Regions from separate parts of the Homo sapiens genome. Here all the other regions are linked to region 1. The links are contacts of gene promoters, found by promoter capture Hi-C in blood cells and fetal thymus (Javierre and others, 2016). All regions are on one chromosome and are shown on one strand. Each heading gives the region's core, a stretch centred on a gene start or on the middle of the fragment in contact. The rest is flanking DNA. Distances are from core to core; before and after follow the strand shown.

Region 1 (3,954 bases), core at 1,455-3,954:
ATATACATAAACAACATACATATAGGTTTAAAGCTCCAAAACACCTTTAAAATCTATTCATCTATCTGTTCAATTATATTACAGTCAAAGAAGAGTGCAATAAGTACTTGCTGTTCCTTCTTCCTGTTCCTTCCGCTGGCCTTCTTCCCTCAATTATGGAAATAGCTGATCCCTTTTCATCATTCGGGTCTGAGGACAAATGTTATACCCTCACACCGCCCCTCCCGGTGAGTCACTCTATTTCAAGCATCCTCCCCCATCACATGATCCTGTTTTATTTCTTCATTGCACTAAGAATACCTGAAATGTATATGCCTACATTTATATAGTCTATTTCCCCCTGAGAACGGAAGCTTCATAGAAGGTGAAACAAATCTTGTTAGTTGCTGCCAGTCGCACAGTAAGCCCTCTGTAGAAAATGTTTATTGGCCACATTTTTTTAAAAAGCGAATAAACCTCAAGATTAAGACCTCAAACCAAACTATTCCAGTTTCCAATTGCTTACAGCGACATACTGAGAAATCGAGTGACTCTCAAGAGAAAGGCCATTTTGAGGCTGGGGTCGAACCAAAATCCAGGGGGTCCACACCAGGTCAGTACCCCGGAATTGGCTGTTTTGCAAGATTTCGGGAGTACCAAATTGGCATGAGACATTTGACAACGAGGCCAGCCATGCACCGAGCTCAGGTTTTATTTCCGTTGTCCTTCTGACGTCAGAAAAAGCACGAGTTGCTGCACAGTTTCTTTTATCAAGGTGACAAATTACACCCTCGCTGGGCCCTGCATTCTGCAAACCATAAATTTATTTTCCTCCTCCCCCTTATATTGAAAAATGTAAAAACCCACTGCAGAGAGGTCAAAACCCCTTCCAAACGCAAATAAATACCGTTTTCTAGCAGAGGCGTCTTTTTTCACTTTTGCTACACACATCACCGCGGATTCGTCCGAGAAAGTACGTGATCCTGGCGGCAGTTAGGTTTCTAACAGAGAACGAGGGTTTGTACAAACCCCGGGTCCGCGCCGCAGAGCAAGACAAAGGACTCTGAATTGTAGCACCACCTTCCCCAGCCCAAGGCAGCCTGTGAAAGGCACTGGGAGCGGCGTGACGCGGGTACCGCGAAATTCCTTTTGCTGCCATATGCACTTGTGCCTTCTCTAACTACAGTTCAGCACAAACCTCAGGCGGGCGATTTGGCAGGCAAACGGTGCCCAGGCAGCCGGGTAACCTACTGGGTCCCAGTGGGTGCTGGGGAGCCCCATGCGCCAGGAGGTGGATAATTTAGGGGGCAAGGGGCTCGCACAAGGGCGAAGATGCGCTCTCCTCCCGGCACCGACCCACGCGTTTAAAGGCCTCTGCGGCAACGTTTAGGGACGCGAACTAGGTGCCGGGGGTTGGGGAGGAGGTGGGACTGGAAGCGAGAGCAGTCTGCGCCCAAGACCGCGCAAGAGGTGGCCTTTTGTTCGCTGGCTCCAGCACATCCCGGCTCTCGAAAAAACACTACCTCTGTCCCCTGCCACCCTCTGCATTTTAGAAAATCCTCTTCAGGGCAGGAAAGGACAGTGAGTCACTGCAAGCATCCTTTAGTAATTTCTCCCCGCGCCCTCCTACTTCCCCGCGTTACAGAGGGGCAGAGCACCAGGAAGGACGGCAAACATGCCCCGGTTTAGTGGTGGTCCGCGGCCGCTACCCAGCCGGCCGCACGCAGCACCCCCCGGACATCACACGATCTCCTCTGGGCCTTGCGGACACAGGAAATTTTCACCAAAGGCCGGGGATTCAAACACTCCCAGAACACGGTCGCGCCCTCGGGTCAGCTGCGCTCTCCCTCCAGACGTGCGTGGTTCCTGGCTCTCGTAAAAATGGAACCAGATCTGGTACCACACTCTGCCACAGCCACAGGAAAACACACCAAAGTCACAGGAAAACAAACCAAAAAGTAAGCCACAGCCCACGCAAAGGTGAACTCGGGGGCCCTGGCGCTTCCTCCCGCTGCCGCGTGCGTTCGGGAAGCACAGGAGACCTGGACTTTTCCTCTCCTAAAAGCAACATCCGAAAGCATCGGGCACAGCCGAGCTCTCTCTGCTTTCACGCCCGCAGAGATGATTTCTACGTTACCTCCTCCTCCGACATCTAAATCTCCCCTTGCCGCTCGCCCAGCCCTCCCCGGGAACGGATAATCACCTTACCTCCGGAAATAAAGGGAAAGGTGGCAAAAGGCGATGTGGAGGTGTCCGCCCTTCCGGGGTTTTTACCCTCGGCAGTTTGATGTCCTTTGTGTCAAGGTCTGGCTGCGGAGGCCGGGAAAATGTGGCCCCCGTCAGTAAGGGTTGGGCAGGGAGCTTGGCGTGGCCTGGCGGATTTCGGAGGAAGGTGAAGGGCGGAGGCTCCTGGCGACCTTCTGGCGGAGTGGCGTGGCCGCCCCAGTCCGCGCTCGCCTGGCTCTCCTCCTTTCCGGGCCGATTGCATCAGAATCTCCCCTCACCACCAACCCCCACTCACACTCTGCTCGCCGGCCTCGCACTTACATCGACATGCACCGGCGCTGAGGGTCACGAATCGGAGTCATTCTCCTACTGGGGGACGCGTGGCCCTTCCGCAACCATGGCTTGTGATGGTTTAACGCGGACAGGCCATTCCTCCCCGTCCCGCGCGCGGTCTCCTCCCCTCCTGTGCGCCCGCTCTTTAACCAAAGCTGCGTGTCAGTGAGCCGTGCCGGTCACATGGTGTCACTGCTGGCGGCCGCACCTTGCTGCCTCCCTCTTGCAGCTCTCTGACGATGCAGCGACCGCGGCTGGCGGAGATTGAGCAACGGGGAAAGGGTGAGGGAGGGGTTGCGGGGCGCGCGTGTGCCCGGCGCACTGAAGCTGGCACCGGGAGCAGAGGCTGCGCGCCGCCCTGGCACCTGCCCCTCTCCCTCCCGGGGCCCGGCGGCGTGTTCGGAACCCAGCTGCGGCTGCAGCTGGAGAATGAGAGCCCTTAGGGATGGGGGTGGGGCGGCTAAAGGGGCACCGGCGGAGGACAGGAGGGCTGTGCGTTCCGCTGGGGCCTGCATTTTGGGTACGCCAGAGCCCCGCCGGGGCCGAAGGAGCGAGGGAGTTGCATTGTGGGAAGGGCGCAGCATGAGGATGGCCGCGGGAGTGGCAGGTCCGAGCGCAGCCCGGAGAGCCGCGGGCAGCGCCTGGGACTACGGGCAGCGTTGGAGCGGAGGGCTGGCCCTGGGCACAGCCTGCAGATGGCCCGGGTTGGCGGGAAGGGGACCGAAGTGGCAGGGGCGGCGGGGAGCTCGGGCACCTTTAAAAACCCTTTGTCCCTAACCTGAAGCGGGAGGCACCTCCCCTCTTCCGGATCCAGCACCCGCAGACCTGGTCAGCCCTTCCTGAGATCTGCCCTGTGGAGCTCTGCTTTGGGGACTGGGTGTGAGGTGAACCAGAAGGATTTGCTGAGCACCGAGAAAGCACCGGCCTAGGCGCAAAGAGCCGGGGGCCAGCTCTTGGAGGGCCTGGAGACCCCACGTGGTCCCGACCGAAGGACCTGGTGCGTCCAGGTTAACGGAGCTGGGGCGCTCCAAGTCCGGGGGACGAGGGAGCGGCATGGAGGGGAGCAGGGGCAACTGGGCCTGGTTCCCTTTTTTCCCGCTTACTCTTTGTTTCAGACACAGCCCCCTTTCACTGGCTGGGCACTTGCTTGCAGAGGAGTTGTGTCTTAAAATGGCGACAGGAAATCCCACCTGCGCCTCAGCCAATTAGACTGTCATAGCGCGAATTTGCAGGGTGGAAACGCGAGCTTTTTATTGATAGGGAAGGTTCAGTCTCCTGTTCATGGTTCATCAAAACAGGAAAGGGAAGGTGAATCATAATTCAAAAATTAACTACCTGGAGCGTTTCAAGTAGACAGTAGTCATTGTATTTGGGTGAATTTTGCTTTTTCATCACCACTGGAAAAGCAAGATGATA
Region 2 (3,954 bases), core at 1-2,500, 940 kb after region 1:
ATGCAAAGCAAATATTCATCATAAAAGAATATGACTAGAAGCTACTTTTCATGGCGCTATTTTCATTTTCATGTTTTCAGTAGAATTTTAAAAATCCCTTTTCAGTAATAGAAGTGATACTCTAACATAAAGCCATAAATGCACTCCCAACATTGAATTCTAGTTATCTGCTTCTGTGTTTTTCCCTCCCTGCACTGTGAGCTACAGAACATAGAGAAGACCATATCCTACTCAACCTCATATCTCAGGTGCTAAGCACTGTGCCTGACCGAAGGAGCACTCGATGGATGTTTATCTAATAAAGTAAGAAAGGAAGAACAGCACACATCCAAAAATATTAAGCTGTTTCTATCTTCCTTGACAAAACAACCTTATGGCCAGGTGCGGTGACTCACGCCTGTAATCCCAGCACTTTGGGAGGCTGAGGCATGTGGATCACTTGAGGCCAGGAGTTCAAGACCAGCCTGGCCAACATGGTGAAACCCCAACTCTACTTTAAAAAAAAAAAAAGGAGCCAGGTGTAGTGGCACATGGCTATAATCCCAGCTACTCAGGAGGCTGAGGCAGGAGAACTGCTTGAACCTGGGAGGCAGAGGTTGCAATGAGCCAAGATCGCACCACTGCACTCTACTATGGGCAACAGAGTGAGACTCTGTCTCAAAAAAAAAAAAAAAAAAAAAAAACTGGGCGCAGTGGCTCAGGCCTGTAATTCCAGCACTTTGGGAGGCTGAGGCGGGTGGATCACTTGAGCCCAGAAGTTCAAAGCCAGCCTGGGCAACAAGGTAAAACCCAATCTCTCGGCTGGGCACGGTGGCTCACGCCTGTAATCCCAGCACTTTGGGAGGCCGAGGCGGGCGGATCACGAGGTCAGGAGATCGAGACCATCCCGGCTAAAACGGTGAAACCCCGTCTCTACTAAAAATACAAAAAATTAGCCGGGCGTAGTGGCGGGCGCCTGTAGTCCCAGCTACTTGGGAGGCTGAGGCAGGAGAATGGCGTGAACCCGGGAGGCGGAGCTTGCAGTGAGCCGAGATCGTGCCACTGTACTCCAGCCTGGGAGACAGAGCGAGACTCCGTCTCAAAAAAAAAAAAAAAAAAAACCCAATCTCTACCAAAAATACAAAAAACTAGCAGGGCATGGTGGCTCACTCCTGTGGTCCCAGCTACTGGGGGTAGGTGGGAGACTGAGGTGTGAGGATCACTTGAGCCCGGAGGTGGAGGTTTCAGTGAGCTGAGATCATGCCACTGCACTCCAGCATAGGTGACAGAGCAAGAGACTCTGTCTCAAAAAACAAAAAGAAAAAAGGAGAGAGGACCGGAATTGGAAAACTAAGCCTGTGGTTTAAAGGTAAGGGACATTGCTAAATAATGTAAGACCCAGTTCTTGCAGGGCATTAAATTATTCTCTGTAAAAAGAGCTTACAGCCTTAGAGAAAAAAATTCATGAACTATAGCTCTGGAACTATGAGTCCAGGACCCAGGAAGCCTGGTCTTTAGTCCAAGCTCAGTAGTTAACCTGTGTGATTCAGACAGTTGCTCAATCTCCCCGAGCTTCAACTTGACCTAACGATGATTTCTGTCATCTCCCCTCCACTTGCGCAGTCTATTCCTGCAGTGATGGTGTCATACCAGCCCATGGAACAGTGCCCATCAAACAAGGTACTTGTCAGTATTTACGTTTTTTTCCAGTGGTTAGTCATTTAAAGAATTATTTTGCATTACTAAAGCATGGATGCATGTATACTAATCCCTGGAACAAAAATGAGCATTTACTAAGTACCAAGCAGTCTGCTTAGCACTTTGCAGGTTTAAACTTCACAACTGGAAGTGGGCCAGAGGAGTTGAGTACCTTTCCCAAAGTCACACAGCTTGTGGATTATTAATTTGGGACTCTGAACTCAGGCTTTTCTGCCTGCAAAGGCCATGTTCTGAACCACTAGGCTGCATTGGAACAGAATACAGAACTTGCATAAAACATAAGAATTCTAAGAATTTTGTGGAAATGTTTAAGAAATCCTGACAGAATGGGATCTTTTATAAATTCACATTTCTCATTCCATCCATCCTGAATAGTGAAATCACTGATTTGGCTTTTCTCAATCTGTAACATCCCAAATCCCAATAAGTATTGCCTTGTTCATCAACACAAAGTTTGCACATACTTCGTGCAAAATTTAGTTCTGTTACTAAATCGAACTCATGAGAAGTTTTAATCCAGAATCTCAAAGTTCCTAATATGTTATCAGAGAAGATTTCGTACCCTAATAGAAACAAATTATTCATTATTCATATGTGCTTGAAAGTACTAATTGTGAGTGCTTTGAAGAGAAATTATCAAAAATATGTGGACTGTTTAAGTCAGACAACCAAAGAAAAAAACATAGTTTTGTGATTTGCCAAATTTGGCCCATTCGTTTAAGGCAGCCCAGGAATAGATTTAAACACATACACACACGAGCCAGCTGAAATTAATGTATATATATGTATATATTTAATGGGCTGATTTCTGGCCCTCTTATAGGATTCCCAAGAAGATAAGAAAAATAATTGCGTTCCTTAAGATAGAAAATGTGGATAAAATGGTAATGGCTTGCATAAAGCAAAGTTTAAATTTCTCTGTGGCTATAACTACTAATGAGCTGCTAATAGTAAAGGATATCTGTGTGTGAAAGCACATTCACAGGGTAAAACATTATATGTGCATAAGTTGTCATTACTGTTTAAGAAAAAGCCAAGTTTGGTGGGTAAAAAATAAAAGATGGCTCACTGAGCTTTGAAACATGAGATAGGGCCAGAATAGCAATAGTAGCTGTCTACATAGAGCATAATAAGTTCTTGAAAGCAAGAAAATCAGTTGAAAATCTGTTGATCTCAACTTTATTTTAAGTTTAAAGAGTATAAGTGTGATTATCATTTGCATTATTACAGCTCTTCTGTTCTCTGGTCTTGGGATGATTACAGAGATTGTCCTTTTATTCTCACAGTGCACAGACTAGCTGAAATCTACAGAACTAGAAAGATTTGCAATTCATTTATAGAATTGCTAGAACTAAATAATGGCAGATTTTTCAAAGTTATGTAATAGACTACTCTGGATTATAAAATACTAAAGCTATCAGTTGGGTTCTGCCTTGATTCTATTAAATTTCCCGGTAATGACTGTACTAAAACTCATGGGGAACTGCAAGATAACTTTATTGATGGCCATAGAGGATGAAAACAATGCATAAGGTATGGAATTAATTTTAAGCCACACACTGAATAGACAGTGATGTAAAGTAAAATGATATTTTTCAAGGAAAGACAATTATGTCACATTATAATCCAGTTTACATAAATAGCATACTATTAAAAAAAGCTAAGTCTTCAGAGCATGTAATTCAGGACTGTTGTGAAACCTCTTACTCTTGTTGGTTAGTTATTTTGTGCTGTAAGGGAGGGAAAATGGCTTCCTCCCTACTTCTAGGTTCTTTGGCTGGGATACAAATTAAATTGACATAAAACAGATTAACAGGAGAAAAAAACATTTTTGGCCAGGCTCGGTGGCTCATGCCTGTGATCCCAGCACTTTGGGAAGCTGAGGTGGGAGGATCACTTGAGCCCACGAGTTCAAGACCAGCCTGGGCAACATATTGAGACCAAATCTCAATTCAAAAAAAAAGAAAAGAAAAGGAAAAAACATTTTTAATTATATGCACACACACTGGAATCCCCCAGGTAATAAAAGTTGTCTGAGAGCAGGACTCTTCCTGATACAGATACTTTGACTAATGTAGATTTCTTTTATAAATATAAATTTATTTTACAAAAGGACAGCTTTTCAGAGATACTCTTGTGTCTGCAGTTGCTCAGAATAATCAGCTCGAAATATGCCAAATAACTATATTTTGGGGTGGCATATTTTTTATTTTTGAGATGGAGTCTCGCTGTTGCCCAGGCTGAGGTGCAGTGGCG
Region 3 (3,954 bases), core at 852-3,351, 930 kb after region 1:
CCCCCTTCCCCCTTTCCACTCCAGTCATTGTTTCAGCCCATCACCTTCTCCCCAACCCTCAATCACCATGGTAATTCAGATTACTGCCTTCACTCGCCTGGATTACAATAGTTAGGGTGTAGGATTTTGGCTGACCCCCAAAACAAAAGATTAAAAATTATGGATGACTTTTATAAACTACAAGCAAGTCTTACAATTTCCCTCAGAGACAAAGATATACTTCTGCCCACTCAGCCCTGAGTAGCTTCAATCATGGTTCTCTAGTAAGTTAGAATTATATTTTCTCCCCGTGACATAAATTTCAGTATAAGGATCAGCAACATTGCTCCAGTCCTATAAATCATATGAGGCAACCAAATAGTCTCCAAGATTCTAGCTCATTTGCTGTTCATCTGTTTTAAGATTGCATTTCACCAGTTTATTTCAGGGTGTCTGCCATTTTGGCCCCAGTTTTGATAACTGCAGATTGTTGTTATTTTAAAGCCATTTCATTGCTCAGTCTTGCTGGGGCTGGGGCCCTGCCTTGCTCTTGCCCTCACTAAGCTGCATTCTGGTTTCCTGCCTACCTCCCTTGGCTTTGAATAAATACCACATGCTCTTGCTGTGCTTTTGCTGTGCTCTGCCACCTGCAGGGCCCTTGGTCATACTGTGTTGAGACCTCCTTGCAGGAGTGGCCGCTTGCCCTTTGCAGCCAGCATTTTTCAGATAACTTCCCTCCATGCTCCTGAAACACATCTGTCTCCCCACTGCCTGCCTCCTCTCAGGAATAGGTCTTTTTTTATTTTGAGATGGAGTCTCACTCTGTCGCCCAGGCTGGAGTGCAGTGGCACGATCTCAGCTCACTGCAACCTCCACCTGCTGGGTTCAAGTGATTCTCCTGCCTCAGCCTCCTGAATAGCTGGGATTACAGGCGCGCAGCACCACGCCCAGCTAATTTTTGTATTTTTAATAGAGATGGGCTTTCACCATGTTGGTCAGGCTGGTCTCGAACTCCTGACCTCGTGATCCACCTGCCTAGGCCTTCCAAAGTGCTGGGATTACAGGCGTGAGCCACCGCACCTTGCTGGGATGGGTCTCTTTACAGGTACTGGAACTAATTTAGAACCACAAATGTCCCTTTGATAGCTACTTATTGCAAACACAAGAGAAATTTCCTTAGTGTAAAGAAAATCAATCATTTTTGGCAAACTACTTAGACTTTCAACAGTGAAGCTTCTTAGAATATTGAGGTCTCCTGCTCTTCTGGGAACTGTGGGACAAAGTACTCCAGTTAATATCCTCAGATGACCTGCCAACAAGAAAGGTCATACCGGTCGGAGTTCCATGTGCTATTTAAAGAACAGACCTTAGATGGCAGAAGCAGCAATATGTGGCCAGGGTTTTAATGAGGAAGAGAAAGGTGCCGTGTGGCTAAATTCGAGAGTAAATGGCATTGTTGTGTTCAGAAACAGCACTGGCCACTTATCCTGTTTCATAATTCCTCTTCTTTAAAGTTATTATCTTCATTTTGAGTATTGTGAATTATTTATTAGTATTATATATTTAACTTGTTAAATGAAGAAATGTGTTCTTGTATGAGAGGGGGGAAGAAAAGCCTGTTTTAGTCTTTTGGAATTCATCTTTAGAAATATTTCTAAAAGTAGGCCGGGCGCGGTGGCTCACGCCTATAATCCCAGCATTTGGGAGGCGGAGGCGGGTGGATCATGAGGTCAGGAGTTCGAGACCAGCCTGACCAACAAGGCGAAATTCCGTCTCTTCTAAAAATACAAAAATCAGCCGAGCATGGTGGTACACACCTGTAGTCCCAGCTACTCGGGAAGCTGAGACAGGAGAATCACTTAAACCCAAAAGGCGGAGGTTGCAGTGAGCCGAGATCATGCCACTGCACTCCAGCCTGGGCGATGGAGCGAGTCTCTGTCTCAAAAAAAAAAAAAGAAAAAAAGAAATATTTCTGAAGGTGACAGCTAATGTCTCGAGGGAGAAAATGAGGATCATGAGAAAATGAAACAATTTTTCTCCATATTAATTATGTGTACAATCCAAACCTATCTGATAGCTGGTGACTACAAATTTATTCATTTTCCCTCTACCCACCCTCCTTCCTCTGATTATCTTTCTAAATTCACTTAGAGGCAGCAACTACCCAAAAAAAAACCCCACCATAGTAGAGTAGAGGAGGGATGGGTGTTGTATTAAGGAAGGTATAGCCCCTGTAAGTAACATGCTACAGTAAGGGCCAGAAACAAGAAGGTTGCTCACAGCAGCCCCAGTAGAGTTTAATATCAGATATTGAAGTGAGTCAGGAAGATCTAAGAAAATCATACCTGAGTCTACCAGAGTTGTCTGTTCCCACTTTTTTCATTCTTCATTTCCTCACCCTCTATTCACATTTTATGTATAGTTAAATATTCATTATTCATTTTATTATGCCCATGCAGATAGCAGTCAGAACTTAATGTTATAATATACGGGCTATGGTTATGTTTTATTAACCATTTGCTTTTTTCTTGAACTTAATAATTACATTTTTTAAAAACTGCTTAGTTTTCTGGTCTCTATTACAATTCTTCCCACACCTTCCAATATTCTATTAGCCCAATTTTCCAAAGATTAGTCAAACTAGGTGATGCATTAATTTCAGTTCCAAAATAAATGAATTCTTTTAACTTTGCAAAGACTATTACATATAACACTATGTTACAAAATTTGAATATATTGACATTTTTAAAGTAGAGTGTTTATGTGTGTAACTTTTTAAAAATATGTAACCATAAAAAAGTAGGTAAATAATATCAACTTCAACTTAATAGTGCTTTGCTAGGAGGCAGTAGAACTTAGTAGCTAAGTGTCTGGCATTAGAGCAACTAGCTTCAAATCCTGGCTCTGCCACTTACTAGATGTGCCTACCAGAAACAAGATACTCAACCTATTTGTGCCTCAGTTTTCTGATCCATAAAATGGAGATAATAGTACCTAACTCAAGGATTGTTCAAGCTTAACTTAAGTAATACATATAAATCACTATATGTTGCCTGACATACAGTAAATGCTCAGTAAGTTTTAGGTATTATTTAGCACAGTAGCAAAGGAAGAAACAATTTAAAAACACTGAAAAACTTCATCTAAAGTTTATATATGGGCTGGGCACCGTGGCTCACGCCTGTAATCCCAGCACTTTGGGAGGCCGAGGCAGGCAGATCACCTGAGGCCAGGAGTTCGAGACCAGCCTGGCCAACACGGTAAAACCCCGTCTCTACTAAAATTGCAAAAATTATCTGGGCGTGGTGGCGGGCGCCTGTAATCCCAGCTACTCAGGAGTTTGAGGTAGAATTGCTTGAACCCAGGAGACGGAGGTTGCAGTGAGCCAAGATCGTGCCACTGCACTCCAGCCTGGGCAAAAGAGCAAGACTCCATCTTAAAAATTAAAAAATATATAAAAAATAAACTTTATATATGAAAAAATATGAACATAAAATTAACAGAAAAATAATAAGCTGAAATGAAAACATTTGCAGCATGGATGGCAGGCCAAAGTGTTAATACACTTAATATGTAATAATCCTTAGATAAAATAGAAAAGTAGGCAAAGTACACAAATTGGCAGTTTATTTAAAAAAAAAAACAGATGATAGACCAGCCTGACCAACATGGTGAAACCCCATCTCTACTAAAAATATAAAAATTAGCCAGACATGGTGGCGGGCACCTGTAATCCCAGCTACTCAGGAGGTTGAGGCAGGAGAATCACTTGAACTTGGGAGGCGGAGGTTGCAGTGAGCTGAGGTTGCACCACTGCACTCCAGCCTGGGTGACAGAGTGAGACTCTGTCTCAAAAAAAAAAAAAAAAAAAAAAAGATATAAAAACATATCTGCCCTCGCTTGTAAAAAAAAGTCATTGCATATTAAAATACAATGATAGCCCGGTGCAGTGGCTCACGCCTGTAATCCCAGCAC
Region 4 (3,954 bases), core at 911-3,410, 750 kb after region 1:
ATATGTGCATTAACCATATACCAAGAACCAGAATACAATAAAATGCATTTGACCCTAAATTTAAATTAGATTTAATTTTACTCTTGTTATTCAGATGGTACTTTAGGATCTTATAGGTCTAGGCTTTGAATACTAATTCTCATTGTGTAGTATACAAAAATGTATGTTTGAGCTTTCTGGTTGCTTGGATTTAAAACTAAAAGTGGTTTTGTATTTATAAAGGATCAAACCTATCATGCATAGTGTGAGTGGCAGCATATCCACCATTTTAGTTGATTCTTTGTAGTATTATAACCATAATCGCATGATCTTATATATTGCTTTATTCCAATATTAAAGATTGAGAGATAATGATAATGATTTTATCTTTTAGTTATAGAATTGCCTTCAAATGCCTTGTTTTATAATCATCTCAAAGTCAAACAAGAGATTCCTTTAATCGTTACATCATTTTTCATAGGCAAGTAATGAGGGACTGAATGGTTTTGCTGTTGAAGACAGAAGGACAAAAAAGTAAAATCATATTCTCCAAACATATACAGATAGTATTGAAAAGAAGTGTAAGAATTAGTTATTGTTTGTTTGCCCTTGGAAATAACAGTTATTATTCTGTTATTATTTTTAAACATCTATTTTATTTATTATTATTAAAGGAGCAGTTATCACTAATGCAATCATTTCAGAAAAATTTTCTTTAAAGCAAACACAGGAAAACAGAAACAAAAACCACCTCCATTTAATTGAGTTCTTAGTATGTGCCACGTGATTTAAATACTTTACATACTTTTCTTACTTAGTCCTCACACAACCTGATAAAGTTTCATTTTATAAAGGAAGAAACCAGGCTGAGTCATTGAATAACTTATTTTAAGCCACATTGACAGTAAAGGGCAGCTTCTGGATAAAACCTAAGTGTGTCCAATTTTGAAGCCGTGCTTATAAATGTGACAAAAAATACTTTATAACCATGTCAGGAAAACATGCATTGTACCTACTACTCTACAAAGTCTAGCCAAGAGCAGAACTGACATGCATTGTCTTATTTGCCATAGGTAAATCAACAGGAAAGCGAAGTATAAACAGTTAACTCAGACTAGTATATTACCCAGGGTTTTATACTGGTTGATCTGCCATTATTCCAGAGGCAAGACTACAAATCACTTGGATAACATGATCCTGCAATGTCAAGGTAGGTAAATAACTTGTGAGAGTTTTTAAATGATGCCATCACCACTGCAGAAGAGTATATTTACTCCTTCTGCTTTCCTTAAAATGGCTAGCATTAGGCTCTTTATTCAGAAATTTTTATATTATAACATACCTTATCTTATATCATTATCTTCTCCCAACAATCTATTAGGCCAACGTGCTAGATCAGTGATGTTACTTTAAGGCCCTCTCAATCTTTTTTAAAAGTTGTAAACAGACCACTGTGCCACGTAAAGATTAAAGTGTAAAGACTGAGACTTCAAGAATAAATTTTAATGCTGTGATCATATAATATATAAATTTTGCCAAACTACTTTTTGAGCTGCATGCTAATTAAATACAATGCTTAACAACCACTGATACACACACACACACACACACACACACACACACACACACACATAGAACTACTTTTACATAGCTAAACCAAGAAATGGGAAAGCTTGTTACTTTGTTTCTAGATTCCTGGATTCATAATTCAAGGGCATTGTGATAGATCTCCTTTGTTGTTCTTCCTATATCCACCCCTCCCTCCCCAAGCCAATGGAACCTTAAGTTCGTTCAGGTGGCTGCTGAGATCTTTCCCTCTGTCGAGTATTTATGGATGGGTTTAAACCAATCGTGATTCATCCCAGGGCCAGGGATAAATTATGATTGGTCTAAACCAGCCTTAGTAATCTTAGTAATCTTGTAACTTTGTCTGGGAATGAAGTGACAAATTTTGGTCAATGAGATGAAAGCAGAAGTTTTTGAATGAGCCTCCAGGGCTTGTCTTTCTGATTAACACAGATAACATAGAAAAGAACTTTTGTCTTTCTGATTAACATTGATAAACTTACAGAAGACAGCCTTTGCCTTTCTCTTCTCTTCTGCCTGCAATGAAGACATAGTCCCTGGAGGCACAGCAGACATTTGTGACCATAAGATGACAAGCCTGAGGACAAAAGTCAACTTTTATTTTTTGAGACGGAGTCTCATCCTGTGGCCCAGGCTGGAATACAGTGGCATGATCTCGGCTCACTGCAACCACATCCCCGGTTCAAGGGATTCTCATGTCTTAGCTTCCCTAGTAGCTGGGACTACAGGCATGCACCACCATGCCCAGCTAATTTTTGTAATTTTAATAGAGACGGGGTATCACCATGTTGGCCAGGCTGATCTCGAACTCCTGACCTCAGGCGATCTGCCCACCTGCACTTCCCAAAGTGCCAGGATTACAGGCGTGAGCCATCTCACCTGGACAAAAGTCAATTTTCTAAGGATGATGCAACAGGATGATAGGTCTCTGACAGCATCGCTGAGTTCATTGAATAGCTGTATCAGGACGTTTCTTACCTTTGGATTCCTTGCAATGTGACAAAAAGTTTTATTTATATAAGCTATTGTTTGTAGGGGTTTCTGTTACTTGCAGCCTCATGTATTAGGTTGAACCATATGATATGTTGTAAACAAAAATAGTTGAAGCTTAGCAGATTTCTATGATTCAACCAATTTTATGAATTGATGCTGAATTCAAGACCCTTTCACTTCTCCAGCAATCAAAACCTCTCCTTTTCCTCTCTCCTGCCACCTGATACCACACAAAATAGATCTTTATATATATATATTTCTGACATTTAATCAATGATGTGCTGGTAAACTAGTTTGTTAGGAGGAAAAGCCCTGATTTGTACTGTATTTATGGTATAACTACTCCCACTATGTCTCATTTTAAGCTTCCAGCTTGAGGTCACTGAAAAAGGAGTTGGAAAGAAATGCTCGCAATCAGCTCTTCTGAGCTGCTACTACAGCCAGCTCCAGCATGCCACTGCCCACGCATTGGCCAAAGCTCTGTTACAGTGTATGATGGTCAGAGCTAATGTTAGAAAGTAATTTATTATCCTTACTATTATTCTCTTTGTAGCATTGAGACAAAGATACAAGAAAAATATAATATATCCAATAATTATATGATATATATGCTAAGTACATATTATGTACACATAAAATAATTATAAAATACAATAATTATATCATATAATTAGGATATGGGGAAATTGACAAGATAAATGTAGATCTTTGCCCTCTGATTCATTTAGATCTAGTAAAAAAAACTAAAGAAAATGTGTCAGAGTAGCCACCAAGGAGACATAAAATAGTATGAATTTTTACCAACAAAATAACTTATAATTTTGATATAATTATAATTCTACATTATGGCTTTATTATAATTTATAAGAATATATAATTTTACCAACAAATTAATTAATATGAATTTTTACCAACTAGCTCTTCTATTGCCTAACTTTTATCAGTTATCTCTAATGGGTAAGAAAGAAAACCAAGATATCCTTCACTGGTTATTCATTTTTTGAAAAAGCTGTATTCTGTTGCAGTTAAAGAAGATGAAGCATTTGACTTCCATTTGGGACAGTGACCTTTATAAAATACCGCCCTCCCTCCCCCAAACCCTCAGCCCCCAAACTCATTTTCTCTAGCTGTTGAATGCCAAAAATCCATTTAGTTTTCAAACATTGCCTTTTTTCTATTAGTTTTAGGTAGCTGGTCCAAGAAATGATTGAGATTCTTCCCAGTTTAAACTTAAGATGCTTGAATGTACTGCCAGTACCAAATGAAGGTCTCTGCATTCTTCATCACCCTGTGCCCAGTCTCCGTCTTTTATCATCTTCTTTTAACAATCTTAGTAATCCCAAATAAAGTGAAATGGAACATATTAATAGTTACTCTTGGGGAATTTTTTTTGGA
Region 5 (3,954 bases), core at 606-3,105, 680 kb after region 1:
ATTGGACTTTATGACTCTATGAAATTACTCAAGAGAATAGCTTCATAATGCATGAGAAATAAAAATTGGGGTGATTCAAGACATTACAAACTTTATAGTTAATGTTTGTTCAAATTAACTTAAAGGAGGGGGTGGGACCCAGAGAAGGAAGGGGCTCAAGAGAGCTCATAGCTTATTTCTACAAAATAAAGAATTTCCTTGCTGTCTGTGAGCACTTGGCAACTTTAGGTTGAGGACTGTGCTCTGAATTGTCTTCTCATCTCACATCCCTGCCTAACTGTACACTTACATTTTGTCATACAATCCATCTCCACACATTTTCTTCCTTCACCTTTACCCCCACAATCCCTCCAATCCTGCCTGGAGGCTAAAGCAAATGAAATATATCTACTGTTCTGTACATTTAGCTAATAAAAGAACACTGAGTCTCCACATTCAAATTTCCTTGCAATGTTAGATTGCTTGCTCTAGTTTAGCCTATTAACTATGGGCAAAATACCTTGAATATATTTTATTTCTCTATTTTGTGACATTAACATTTGACTTTCAGCTAATCATTTAAATGTGTGGCACCGGAAAACACATCTTCATAATTGCCTCCTTATTTACATTCCTCAGGGCTGAAGCATGGCAATTTGAATGGATGCAGTTTAAGAATTAATATAGATAGACAAAAATGACAGAGGATTGTAAAGAGGCCCCATGGTTTTGGGAGCTATTCCCTGGCAATCCCTTGTGTTTGATTATAAAAAAAAAAAAAATAAAGGCAGATGTTGAGTGCTGTAGGCTATTCTGCATTTATGGAATTTTCCACTAGGTAATAAGCATTCAGGTCACATACACAGTGAGATTTTCTGCAGTGACAGTACAGATAATAAGGCTGTGCAACTTGGTGACAATTTGCTCCATTTAAGCAAACCATCAACTGGTGCATTTTTACAGCAATTGTCTCAGAAGCATGAGAGATGCTTTTGTGTGCATGTTTTAAATATGGATTCATTAGCACCCAAAGAACAATAGGATGCATTCTGAAATGCATCTTAATGAGAAATAAGCATTGATAGGTCTTCTGAGTTCATGTTTCTATACCACTTTTAAGCCATTAATTAATTAATGGTATTTCTTTGGTCAAATTTAGAAGTAAATAAACCTCTTCCCATTTTTCCTCTTTTTTTTTGAGATGGAATTTCACTCTGTGGCCCATGCTGGAGTGCAGTGGCACAATCTTGGCTCACTGCAACCTCCGCCTCCCAGGTTCAAGCAATTCTCCTGCCTCAGCCTCCCAAGTAGCTGGGATTACAAGCATGCACCACCACGCCCAGCTAATTTTTTTGTATTTTTAGTAGAGACAGGGTTTCACCATATTGGCCAGGCTGGTGTCGAACTCCTGACCTTGTGATCTGCCCACCTCAGCCTCCCAAAGTGCTGGGATTACAGGCATGAACCACCGCATCCAGCCCCTCTTCCCATTTTCTAGGAGTGGCTTTCCCAGAGCCAGATAACATAGTTTAAATATCCATTATTTCTACCAACTATTATTGGGTTAGTACAGAAGGTTTAGCATCTCCAACCCATTAAATGAGAAGATGAGAAAGAAAGGGATTATTAAAGCAATCCATTTTTATTTTTTAGTTCGGTGTATAATCTAGAGTCAAGATGAATGATTGTGTACTGTCCATTAATATCTGTGCTTACCACTCCTAGTTGCTAACCATCAATGTCATCTAACCTTTTGTGGCATATCTGTTGGACTTTTAAGTCTTTCTAAAAGATAATCTCCTTGGTATGCAATGTTGCGCTCGTAGAAGTATTCTTTTTCAACCCACTGCATATCAGCAAATCTGCCTTGGGGCTACATGAACATATGGGAACTGGCACAAAAATGCCTGGACTGGTGCAGCAGGAAGTCAGCCACTGCAGGGAAAGGATGGACATAACACTGAAGCTATCAAGCATATTAAAAGTTTCTTGCAATAAACAAGATAAAAAATGTCCAACACAATTACATCCAAAGAAATTTGTGGCAAGTCAGACTACTTCCTGAAAACATGCTTTTGCAAATAAAATTGATATTAAAATTTTACATAAATTTTCAAAGCCAGAACAAGTCTCAGAGAAATGATTGTGTGTGTGTGTGTGTGTGTGCGTGTGTGTGTACACATAGGTTCTCTTTGGAAAGAGAAAGACAGGAGCATGACATTACTGGAAGGAGCTTTAAGGAATATCAGGACACCTGGCTTCTGATCCTTTCTCTAATCTCACTAGTTCTGAGTGTGAACATTCAGATGAGTTCTGTGAGAAGGAACAAGATGCACTGAAGTTACTTCAAGAAAAAGGAGGATCTTCGAGGGGTAAGCATGGATTAGAAATGAGCAAAAACTCAGAAACAGACACAGGCTGATGGATTCATTCTCTCTCTCTCTCTTTTCAGTACCTCCTGGCTTTGGCATCTTAAGTTCTCCTTGCACTTCTGCATCTCCCTCTGCTGTCTACATACCTGCACTGTCCAATACAGGAACCACCAAGCACATGTGGCTATTCAGATGTAAACATACATTAAATAAAATTAAATAAAATTTATTCAGTTCCTCAGTTGCACTTGCTATGTTTCAAGTGCTCAACAGCCAACCTGTGGCCAGTGGATATTGCATTGGAGGACACCAATTATAGAATTTCCGTCATGCGGCCAGGCACAGTGGCTCATGCCTGTAATCCCAGCACTTTGGGAGGCTGAGGTGGGTGGATCACATAAAGCCAGGAGTTCGAGAACAGCCTGGCCAACATGGTGAAAACCCGTCTCTACTAAAAATACAAAAATTAGTTGGGTGTAGTGGTGCTCATCTGTGATCCCAGCTACTCAGGAGGCTGAGGCATGAGAATGCCTTGAATCTGGGAGGGGGAGGTTGCAGTGAGCTGAGGTCGCACCACTGCAATCCAGCCTGTGTGACAAAGCAAGACTGTCTCAAAAAAAGCAAAACAAACAAAAATTTCCATCATCTCAGAATGGCCTGCACTCCATTCTGTGGCCATTTCTCAATAATCCTGCTCTTTGTTTACCTCCACTTTACTGATTAGAAAAGTGAGGCTCAGAAATGCAAAGATTCAGGTCCAAAGTTTACGTAACTAATAAGCAGCAGAACACTCAATCCTCCAAATTAATTACTCAATTGCCTCCAAATTAATTATTTTTAAGCTACTATATCACATTTACTCTAAGTCAGTAACGAGTTTTCTTTCTGTATTAAAAATAAAGAATGAGGCTGGGCGTGGTGGCTAACACCTGTAATCCCAGCACTTTGGGAGGCCGAGGCGGCCAGATCACAAGGTCAGGAGTTCGAGACCAGCCTGACCAACATGGTGAAACCCTTTCTCTACTAAAAATACAAAAATTAGCTGGGCGTGGTGACACATGCCTGTAATCCGAACTACTCAGGAGGCTGAGGTAGGAGAATCACTTGAACCCAAGAAGCGAAGGTTGCAGTGAGCCAAGATTGTACCACTGTACTCCAGCCTGGGTGAAAGAGTGAGACTGCATCTCAAAAAAACAAAATAAAATAAAGAATGAGTAGTTAAAAATAACACAATTTAAAATAAACACTGACCAGGTGCAGTGGCTCATGCCTGTAATCCCAGCACTTTGGGAGCCCATAAAAAGAAGATTGCATGAGCCCCAGGGTTCGAGGCTTCAGTGAGCTCAGATTGTGCCACTGCACTCAGCCTGGGTGACAGAGTAATAAAACAAAAATAAAATAAACACTCCAAAATTAGATTTAATTATTTGATTTCCTAAGGTAAGCAAAGGAAAAATTGCATCATTAATCAAATTATCAGTGTGTTGATGGTTTCAATTTAGTGTTAAAAATGGTTACTTTTGGTTTTTTAGTTTTGGACCTTTCCTTTGACCTGGATGGTCAAAAATTGGGACTTTTTTGTTTTCATTTTCTCCCTAGAATA
Region 6 (3,954 bases), core at 728-3,227, 660 kb after region 1:
GAGACATTCTACAAAACAACTGGTCTATTATTTTTTTAAATGATACAGTCATGAAAAATATGAGGAATGTTTCCACATTAAAGGAGACTAAAGAGTCATAACAACTAAACTCAGTGGTGCTCTTGAATTCAAGAATCCTGGTCTAGAAACTGGACCAGGAAAATGATATCACTGGAATATTTAGAGAAATTTGAAGATTTGTGGATTAGATAACACAATCGTATCAGTGTTGATTTCTTGATTTTGATAATTGTTCTATGATTGTGTAAGAAAATGTCGTTTAGCACCAGGGACTGCTCTCATGGAAGACAATTTTTCCATAGACATGGCTGGGGTTGGGGTCTGGGGATGGTTTCGGGATGAAACTGTTCCACCTCATGTCATCAGGAATTAGATTTTCATAAGGAGCGTTCAACCTAGATCCCTCACATGTGCAGTTCACAATAGGGTTCACACTCATGAGACTGTAATGCTGCTGCTGATCTGACAGGAGGCGGAGCTCAGGCAGTCATGCTCGCTCACCCACCACTCACCTTCTGCTGTGCAGCCCAGTTCCCAACAAGCCACGGACTGGGTACAGGTCTGTGGCAGGAGGGTTGAGGACCCCTGCTTTAGGAAATATACACTGAAATGCCCAATACAATATTTAGAAGTAGTGTCATGTCTTCAACTTACTCTCAAATGTTTCAGAAAACAATATGTGTGTATAGAGAAAAGTATTCTAGAGAGACACAGGGAGAGAGAGAGACAAACACACACACAGAGACAAAGAACATGATAAAGATAGAAAGAAGAATCTGGATGAATTGTATACAGAAATTCTTGATATTTTTTGTAACTTTTTTGTGAGTTTCATATTATTTCAAAATTAAAAGTATTTAAAAAATTTTTTTAAGTACCATTCCCAGAGATTCTAACTTACTTCCTTTGGGATGGTGCCTGGACATCAGGACTTCAAATTCTCCCCAGCTGATTCTTATTTGCAGCCAGGATTGAGAAGCACTGGCCTATACAAACCCTAGTGTCTGGAGATACAGAATTTCTGAGCTACCTATAATGTTTGAAACTAGTTGGAGTAAAGGGCATTGAGGTTGGAGATTTTTTTTTTATCTCTGCACAGAGCAGTTTAACAGGGTCTTAAATACAGATACCTCAAGGGTCCAGCAAGTAACATAAATGTGTAAAGTAAAGCAGTAGATCACAAGATGACAGCAAACTGTAAGGAGAACTTGTCGATTAAAGTCATTTAGTTCAGATTTTAAAAATATACTAAACAATCCCAAATTGGCAGGCCTATATGGGAGAGTAGGTCATCACATTGTAACATCTGGACCTTGAAGAACAGAGAACTATGGTCATAATTTGTAGGCATAGAAATTAGACAGTACTTAGATTCCTCGGAAAATATTACTATTATGGGCCAGACACTATGTTTAGGTATTAGGTTTATATTAAATTTAAGCAAAGTATATGTTTAAAGTAAACTTGGAAATAAGATAATATGCATTTGATAGCTGTTTCTGTTAGGCTAACTTTGGCTGGCTGTAACATAAAATGGCAAGTTAAACTGGTTCAAACAATAAGGTAATTTAACATCTAAGGTGAAGGAAGTCTAGCAGCTTAGCAATGTCCTCAAGATCTGGGTTGTTCCCATCTCCCCATCCATCTTCTTTACTGTTCGCCATTTGCCCTCCAGCTAGCTCCACTTATAGTCCCAAATCAGCTGCAGGAGCTCTAGGCCTCACATCCAGATGTGGCAACATCCAGGAAACAATCTTTTATTGTTTTTATCTCCTAGGAACAAAGAAACCTCTTCCAGAAGCCCCTCAGTAGATTTTCTCTTATGTCCCAATGTCCCAAATTAGGTCACATGTTTATTCCTAAGCTAAGCACTGGAAAGAAAACAGGGTTTCCAGCCTGGGCTTAGACTGAACAGAATCTGCCTAGAGAATGGGGTCACCATCCTCTGTAACTTGAGGGAGGCAGGATTGATATCACTACAAAACTGAGGTGGAGGCACAATGAGTAATCAAACAGTAGACCTCACCATACAAAACTGTTTTTAATCAGATGTTTTTGGAAATTAAGCCAAACTTCCACTTACAACAGCAGACTATGTAAACACTCATTCCTACTACAGAGATCTGCAAATTAAGCAATTTAAAATTGAGAGATGTGGAATGTGGTGGGAAAAAGCACAAGACTGACCAAATTTAGCTTTCAATGACCTTGATCAAGTCGCTTAGTTTTTCTGAACCTCATTTTCACCTTAAAAATATGGATTGGACTGGATGGTTTCTAAGACCACTTTCAACATTAATGGACTGTTAGCCTTCTATCGCTAATAAATACTCTATAAAATAAAGGAGCTAAAGAACTTGGTATTGTGAGAATACCTCTCAAAGTAAATAGTTCTCAACAATACAGACTTGAAATGAGGGAAAGGTGAATGCTTTAAAATAATAATTAGGACTTCTAGTTTTTGGTCCTGCATGTAAGGAGCTTGGACATCATCACTCATCTTGACAAGTAAGAAGCAGAACAAACAGAAAAATGAACAATTTTTACATGTGTCTTCTTGGTCCATCGGAGAAGTGATGTCCCACGGCAAATACCTGCACCAACAACTAAAGAAACAGACAGATTAATACATAAAATCACAACTTACCAAGGCAGAAACCACCTCCAGAACCAGTACTGAGGCAGGAAAACCTAAGTTGTAACAGACAAATTACTGGAGGTTCACTGTGCACAACTCCAGGAGCAGCCCTTGGCAACATGGCAAAACACCATCTCTACAAAAAAATGCAAAAATTAGCTGGATGTGTTGGCACATGTCTGTGGTTCCAGCTAGTTGGGAGGCTGGGGTGGGAGGATAGCTTGAGCCTGGATGGTTGAGGCTGCAGGGAGCTGTGATTGCACCACTGCACTCTAGCCTGACAACAAAATGAGACTCTGTCTTGAAAGAAAGAGAGAAAGAAAACATAATACTATTGGCCAGGCATGGTGGCTCACGCCTGTAATCCCAGCACTTCGGGAGGCTGAGGTGGGCAGATCACGAGGTCAGGAGATCGAAACCATCCTGGCTAATGCAGTGAAACCCCGTCTCTACTAAAAATGCAAAAAAAATTGGCCGGGCGTGGTGGCGGGCACCTGTAGTCCCAGCTACTCTGGAGGCTGAGGGAGGAGAATGGCGTGAAACCGGGAGGCAGAGCTTGCAGTGAGCCGAGATCACGCCACTGCACTCCAGCCTGGGTGACAGAGCAAGACTCCATCTCAAAAAAAAAAAAAAGAAAAAAGAAAGAAAAAACATAATACTATTTACATTAACAGCTCCAAAATTAAATACTTAGATATAAATCTAACTGAATATGTCCAAGATTTATATGAAGAGAACATTGATGAAAGAAATGAAAGAACTAAATAAACGGAGAGGTATTACTGTTCTTTGATGGGAAAATTCAATATTGTCAAAATGGCAGTTCTTTCCAACTTGATCTATAGACACAATGCAATTCCAAAGTTTCAGCATGTTATTTTGTAACTATTGATAAAAAAGATTCTATTTTTTTGGAGATCTAGAATAGTCAACACAATATTGAAGGAGAAAAACAAAGTTAGAGGACTGATGCTATGCAATGTCAGAAATTACCATGAAGCTATAGCAATCAAGGCAGTGTGGTGCTGGTGAAAGAATATGCAAATACATCAGAGAAACAGAATAGAGAGCCCAGAGATATGCCGACATAAATATAGTCAGCTAATCTTTGACAAAAGAGCAAAGGCAATACAATGGAGCAAAGAGTCTTTTCAACAAATGATGCTGGCACAACTGGATGTTCACATGCATAAAAATGAATCTACACCCAGATCTTGCACCCTCACAAAAATGAACTCAAAATGGATCAGAGACACGAAGTAAAATGCAAAATTATAAAACTCCTAGGACATAAC
Region 7 (3,954 bases), core at 994-3,493, 540 kb after region 1:
CAAGACCTAGTCTTTCAAGTGAATTCATTGCTTATGTAGGTCATGATGATGTAACAGGATGCACAAAATGCCCATGACATCTGAGGGGCAGGAGAAGTGTGGCACCCAACTCAACTTGAAAGGGGCAGAGAAGCTACTGGAGGAAGTAACAGCTGGGCTAAATCTGAAAGAACAAATAGAAGTTGGCAGGAGAAATGCGATGGGGAGCAGACTGCAGGCAGAGCAGATGGCACAAGCAAAGGCAAGGAGGCAAGAAGCAGTTACTGGCAGCTGGGTGTTTCTGAAAGAATAGAAAACACCACTGGAAAGGTCAGTGCAGGGATCACAGAGGGCTGAGGATACCATGTCTTTTCTTTGTTATGTTTAATTCATATGAGTTCATTAAAAAAGTCCAGCTCAGCAGTTCCACATAGAGCTTGAGATTTCAGATACATGAAGAAAATGTGTTTTGTTAGAAATTGTGATAATAAAGGTTACTGCAAACAGTAAAAACCACCTGGGTAGCATGAGGCAATCCTTCTTACATTGCATCCCTCGAGAGAGTGTTTATGTGGACCTGGTCCTCTGCTTTGTGTTTGGACCATCAGGATTATTGTATTAGGCTAAGAACAGAAAAGCTTAGGTTCATGAAGTATTTTGCTTCAAATGATGTAAACTATGTCAAAAAAAAAGCTAATTGCAAGTCTTACAGGAGTTGAATATTTAACTATAGAAATCCTGACTCTTCCTTCCTAGATATTTGAAGTTGATTTTTTAAGTTAGACTCTGAATTTCAACATATTTCAACTTGTCTTAATTATTTTAAAATCCACCTAAGTGAAGATCAATGCTTAAGTTAATTATATATGAGCAATTTTCCAGTAATATTAATTAATATCTTAATTTGCAAGCATTTATATTCCTTAATTATTTCTTAATAGGGTCTAGTATAGTGTTACAAGTAACAGTTGAAAGACTGATATGTGCTTATTTGGATGGGTAATCTGATTTTTACATGTGAATAAGATAATCATATTGACTTAAATAGTTTTGCTTGCATCTTTTCTTTCTCTTTAAATTAAAGGCTGATGGCATTTCCTTTGATGTTTGCTTAAGACTTTTAGCATTAGCTTTTTCTGAGGAATCCTGAGAGGAGCTTCACTGTTTTTGTCTTGAAACTGTCTGTTCATCCCTTTTTATCTACATGAGAAGTCTTCTGACACCCTATTGATCTGAATGTCTGAACATGTTCTCTTCTGTTATGCTAACACTCAGTGCTGGACTTTGATTCAGAAGATCTGGGTTCTAATTCTGACTCCATAAATTACTAGCTGTGCTATCAACAACTTGGCAAACTGTATGAGCTTTTTTCTCATTTATAAAATAGTATATAGTTCCTAGGGTGACAATAGAACTATTGGTGGCAGCAGAAAAAATGTACACATTCTTTTATTTTAGTAAATTAAAGCAAGGAATTTTACAAACCTAAAATAAACTATAAACATGACTGGAGTTCAAACTAGCCAAATTTCTTTCTCCCTGTGGAACTCTTTTTTGCCATTGTTTGGATTAAAAACCTTAACAATGTCAATAAGTAGTAATTACACTTAAAAAGGGGTCAGAGAAATATCAAAGTGGTCATCCAAAAGAAATGTTGGGCATAAAATTCTGACATGTCGATATGAAATCTCAATTCTGAATGTTTCAATTTCACTAATTCTCCTCAGCAAAATTTTCACTAAATGTGAATTGGAATGAGCTGTCTTTAGTATTTTTTTAATTCCCTTTCCTGTTTTTAATCAATTAGTCAATTAACCAATTATTCCATCAGTGAGTAATCTTTGAATATCTATTATGCACCCAGAATGGTTGACATCAGTGTCTCTATGTCTTTTGGCTTTCCTTCTGCTTCCTCACATTGGCCCTGTTTTATTCTGACTGACCATAAGCCTTAAGATAACCTGGGAGAGTTACAGCTGAACTGATATTCACAAGAGTTCTGTTGACATATACATATGTACATTAATTTATTAATTATATGTTATATAAACAAAGAGATCTGCATACCTATATCTATGTCTGTATTTATATTTATTACAAAGCACAGTCCTTTATTTTCTGTTCAAATGAGCTCAGCTTTCATCCTGTGTTCAGATGCTATGTTCCTCTAAGTTCGTTATTGTTTTCTCGCTGTAAATCCGAACTCTTTTTCTCAAATATGGATCTGCCCAGTGAAATGGAGAACACATTGACTCTGGAGTTCAAACTCAAGGATTCGGATCCAATCCCCACTCTGCTGCCTAGGAGCTGAGAGACCTTAGATAAGTCAAGTTAACCCCTTCCTCCTTCGTGCTGTCTGTGCCTCTTGCAAGCCTCACTGTTGAGCTTAAGGGTTGCACTGTAACATATTTGTTTACATGCCTGCCCTTCTAGACTCTGAAGTCTTCAAACACAGATACTGTGTCTTATTCAGCACAGCACAGAGTCAAATAGTAGATTCTGGAGCTCCACTGCCTAGACTTAAATCCGACTTCTGTCTTTTATCCTGTCTGACTTTGGGCAAGTTATTTGCCATTTCTGTGCCTCAGTTTCCGCATCTACAAGAAGGAGATAATAATAGTGCCTACCTCACAGTGCTGTTATGAGGATTAAGTAAGTTAATATTTGTAGAGCATTGAGAAGAGCATCTGGCACATAGTGAACATTTGTGAGCATTTGTTATACATGCATATTTAAAGAATTGTCTCTGACTTCAATACCTAATATGATACCGATTTAATAAGTCTTTTTTGAATAAGTAAAGTCATGCAAATATTCCGGAACTCAGTTTTCTCTTTAATACTGGGTCTAATGAAAACTTAGACAAGGTTATTGTGAGGGTTAAATGATGTATTGGATATACAGCATTATAAACATACAAGGTATTTCTATTGTTCTTTTTTATAAAAGTGAAATGACATTAGCAAAATAGATTATAGAATTAAATTAGCTTCAACACTTTTTGCTTTGAAAGTGTATTGTTACTGTGTATTAGACTATTATTTCACTTGTTATACTATTGGTTGGCACTGGGGAAAAGGTGAAAAATGTGAGGATTTGACCCTGACCCCTGGAATCTCAGAAAACAACCTCATAACAAGGCACAGTTTGCAATATGTGTTTGTTTAATATTAACCAACCTGTGAAGCTGAACAGCCCCATGGTACATATTTACCCCTGAACCTGTCATCAGCGCCAGTGTTTAAACATGCAAGTGTACTGGCAGATTTGGGGGGTTGGTTGGCTTTGCTTTGGGTTAATCTTTTTTGTGAGATTGATAAAACATGAAGACCCAAAGATGTACCACGACACACTTTCCAAATGCTAAAGTAAGTGACCTACATTTCACTCACACTGTACCATTTGATGTTGCTGAGCATTTTAGTACTAATTGCCAAAACAGCCACACAGTTTTGGTCTAATCACATTCAGTAGAATCAAATATAAGACGTTTTTAATCATTATGAATCAGTGCATGGATTAGCTGGCAGCAAGAATGGATGACTGGCTCTCTTTGAGGCAGTTTCTTGATCAAACAAGACAACATGCTTGTCTTGGACAAGATACATGGGAATCTCCCATCTTTACATCTCTTAAATTCAAGGCAGTCTTGCAAGCATGCATACATGCTACTTCTCATTAATTTGAGGTTAACCTGGCTAAGATTGCTTAGAATTTGAGCTGAAGACTAAAAGGCTGTGGTGTCAAATACTTTATTAGGTCCAGTTTCACTCATTCTTTGAGATTTAGAAATGAGGAGTTTTATTCATTTCAGTGTGGAGAAATAGATCACGTACCATGGCTTTGTGGCATGAGTTTTCACCTAAAATGCTTAAAAAACAATTTTCTTCCAAAGCTTTGCATTATCTCATGTAATCACAGTTATTCTATGTTATGGTTGCTAAAATTATTTGAGAATAATTGAATAGAAGATGT

Evidence for each region. Contacts are between HindIII fragments. The CHiCAGO score rates a contact against its expected background, and 5 or more counts as called.
Region 2: a fragment that was not itself captured here is called in contact with the fragment with the promoter of SLC38A1 in region 1 in 1 of 17 cell types (naive CD8 T cells); the score reaches 5.7 in naive CD8 T cells.
Region 3: a contact is called between a fragment that was not itself captured here and the fragment with the promoter of SLC38A1 in region 1, in 1 of 17 cell types (total CD8 T cells). The highest score is 5.1, in total CD8 T cells.
Region 4: a contact is called between a fragment that was not itself captured here and the fragment with the promoter of SLC38A1 in region 1, in 5 of 17 cell types (endothelial precursors, megakaryocytes, naive B cells and 2 more). The highest score is 8.4, in endothelial precursors.
Region 5: a fragment that was not itself captured here is called in contact with the fragment with the promoter of SLC38A1 in region 1 in 2 of 17 cell types (M1 macrophages and endothelial precursors); the score reaches 6.3 in M1 macrophages.
Region 6: a fragment that was not itself captured here is called in contact with the fragment with the promoter of SLC38A1 in region 1 in 1 of 17 cell types (M0 macrophages); the score reaches 5.3 in M0 macrophages.
Region 7: a contact is called between a fragment that was not itself captured here and the fragment with the promoter of SLC38A1 in region 1, in 1 of 17 cell types (fetal thymus). The highest score is 5.4, in fetal thymus.

What each region holds. Positions count from the first base shown.
Region 1 is chr12:46,266,339-46,270,292 of GRCh38, forward strand. It overlaps SLC38A1 (solute carrier family 38 member 1), which reads right to left and starts at 2,705. Exons shown (of 17, transcript NM_030674.4): 1 at 2,188-2,705. It overlaps LOC105378248 (a long non-coding RNA gene), which reads left to right and starts at 2,733. Exons shown (of 2, transcript XR_001749101.1): 1 at 2,733-2,820. RefSeq lists enhancers at 196-1,179, 2,105-2,164, 2,163-3,145, 2,285-2,334, 2,385-2,484 and silencers at 2,895-3,074, 3,155-3,254. The HindIII fragment of the contact is 4,151 bases long and covers 352-3,954 here.
Region 2 is chr12:47,210,995-47,214,948 of GRCh38, forward strand. All of the region lies in intron 2 of PCED1B (PC-esterase domain containing 1B), which reads left to right. All of the region lies in intron 2 of PCED1B-AS1 (PCED1B antisense RNA 1), which reads right to left. Among named protein-coding and RNA genes, the nearest start is that of PCED1B-AS1, 3.5 kb to the right of the region's middle. The HindIII fragment of the contact is 8,343 bases long and covers 1-3,954 here.
Region 3 is chr12:47,193,408-47,197,361 of GRCh38, forward strand. All of the region lies in intron 2 of PCED1B (PC-esterase domain containing 1B), which reads left to right. Among named protein-coding and RNA genes, the nearest start is that of MIR4698, 7.6 kb to the left of the region's middle. The HindIII fragment of the contact is 1,782 bases long and covers 1,211-2,992 here.
Region 4 is chr12:47,021,680-47,025,633 of GRCh38, forward strand. No RefSeq gene overlaps it. Among named protein-coding and RNA genes, the nearest start is that of PCED1B, 56 kb to the right of the region's middle. The HindIII fragment of the contact is 1,022 bases long and covers 1,650-2,671 here.
Region 5 is chr12:46,948,463-46,952,416 of GRCh38, forward strand. LOC124902924 (a long non-coding RNA gene) reads left to right here. Exons shown (of 2, transcript XR_007063285.1): 2 at 1-766. Among named protein-coding and RNA genes, the nearest start is that of SLC38A4, 120 kb to the left of the region's middle. The HindIII fragment of the contact is 6,570 bases long and covers 1-3,954 here.
Region 6 is chr12:46,928,208-46,932,161 of GRCh38, forward strand. No RefSeq gene overlaps it. Among named protein-coding and RNA genes, the nearest start is that of SLC38A4, 100 kb to the left of the region's middle. The HindIII fragment of the contact is 9,619 bases long and covers 1-3,954 here.
Region 7 is chr12:46,811,214-46,815,167 of GRCh38, forward strand. All of the region lies in intron 1 of SLC38A4 (solute carrier family 38 member 4), which reads right to left. Among named protein-coding and RNA genes, the nearest start is that of SLC38A4, 13 kb to the right of the region's middle. The HindIII fragment of the contact is 3,257 bases long and covers 616-3,872 here.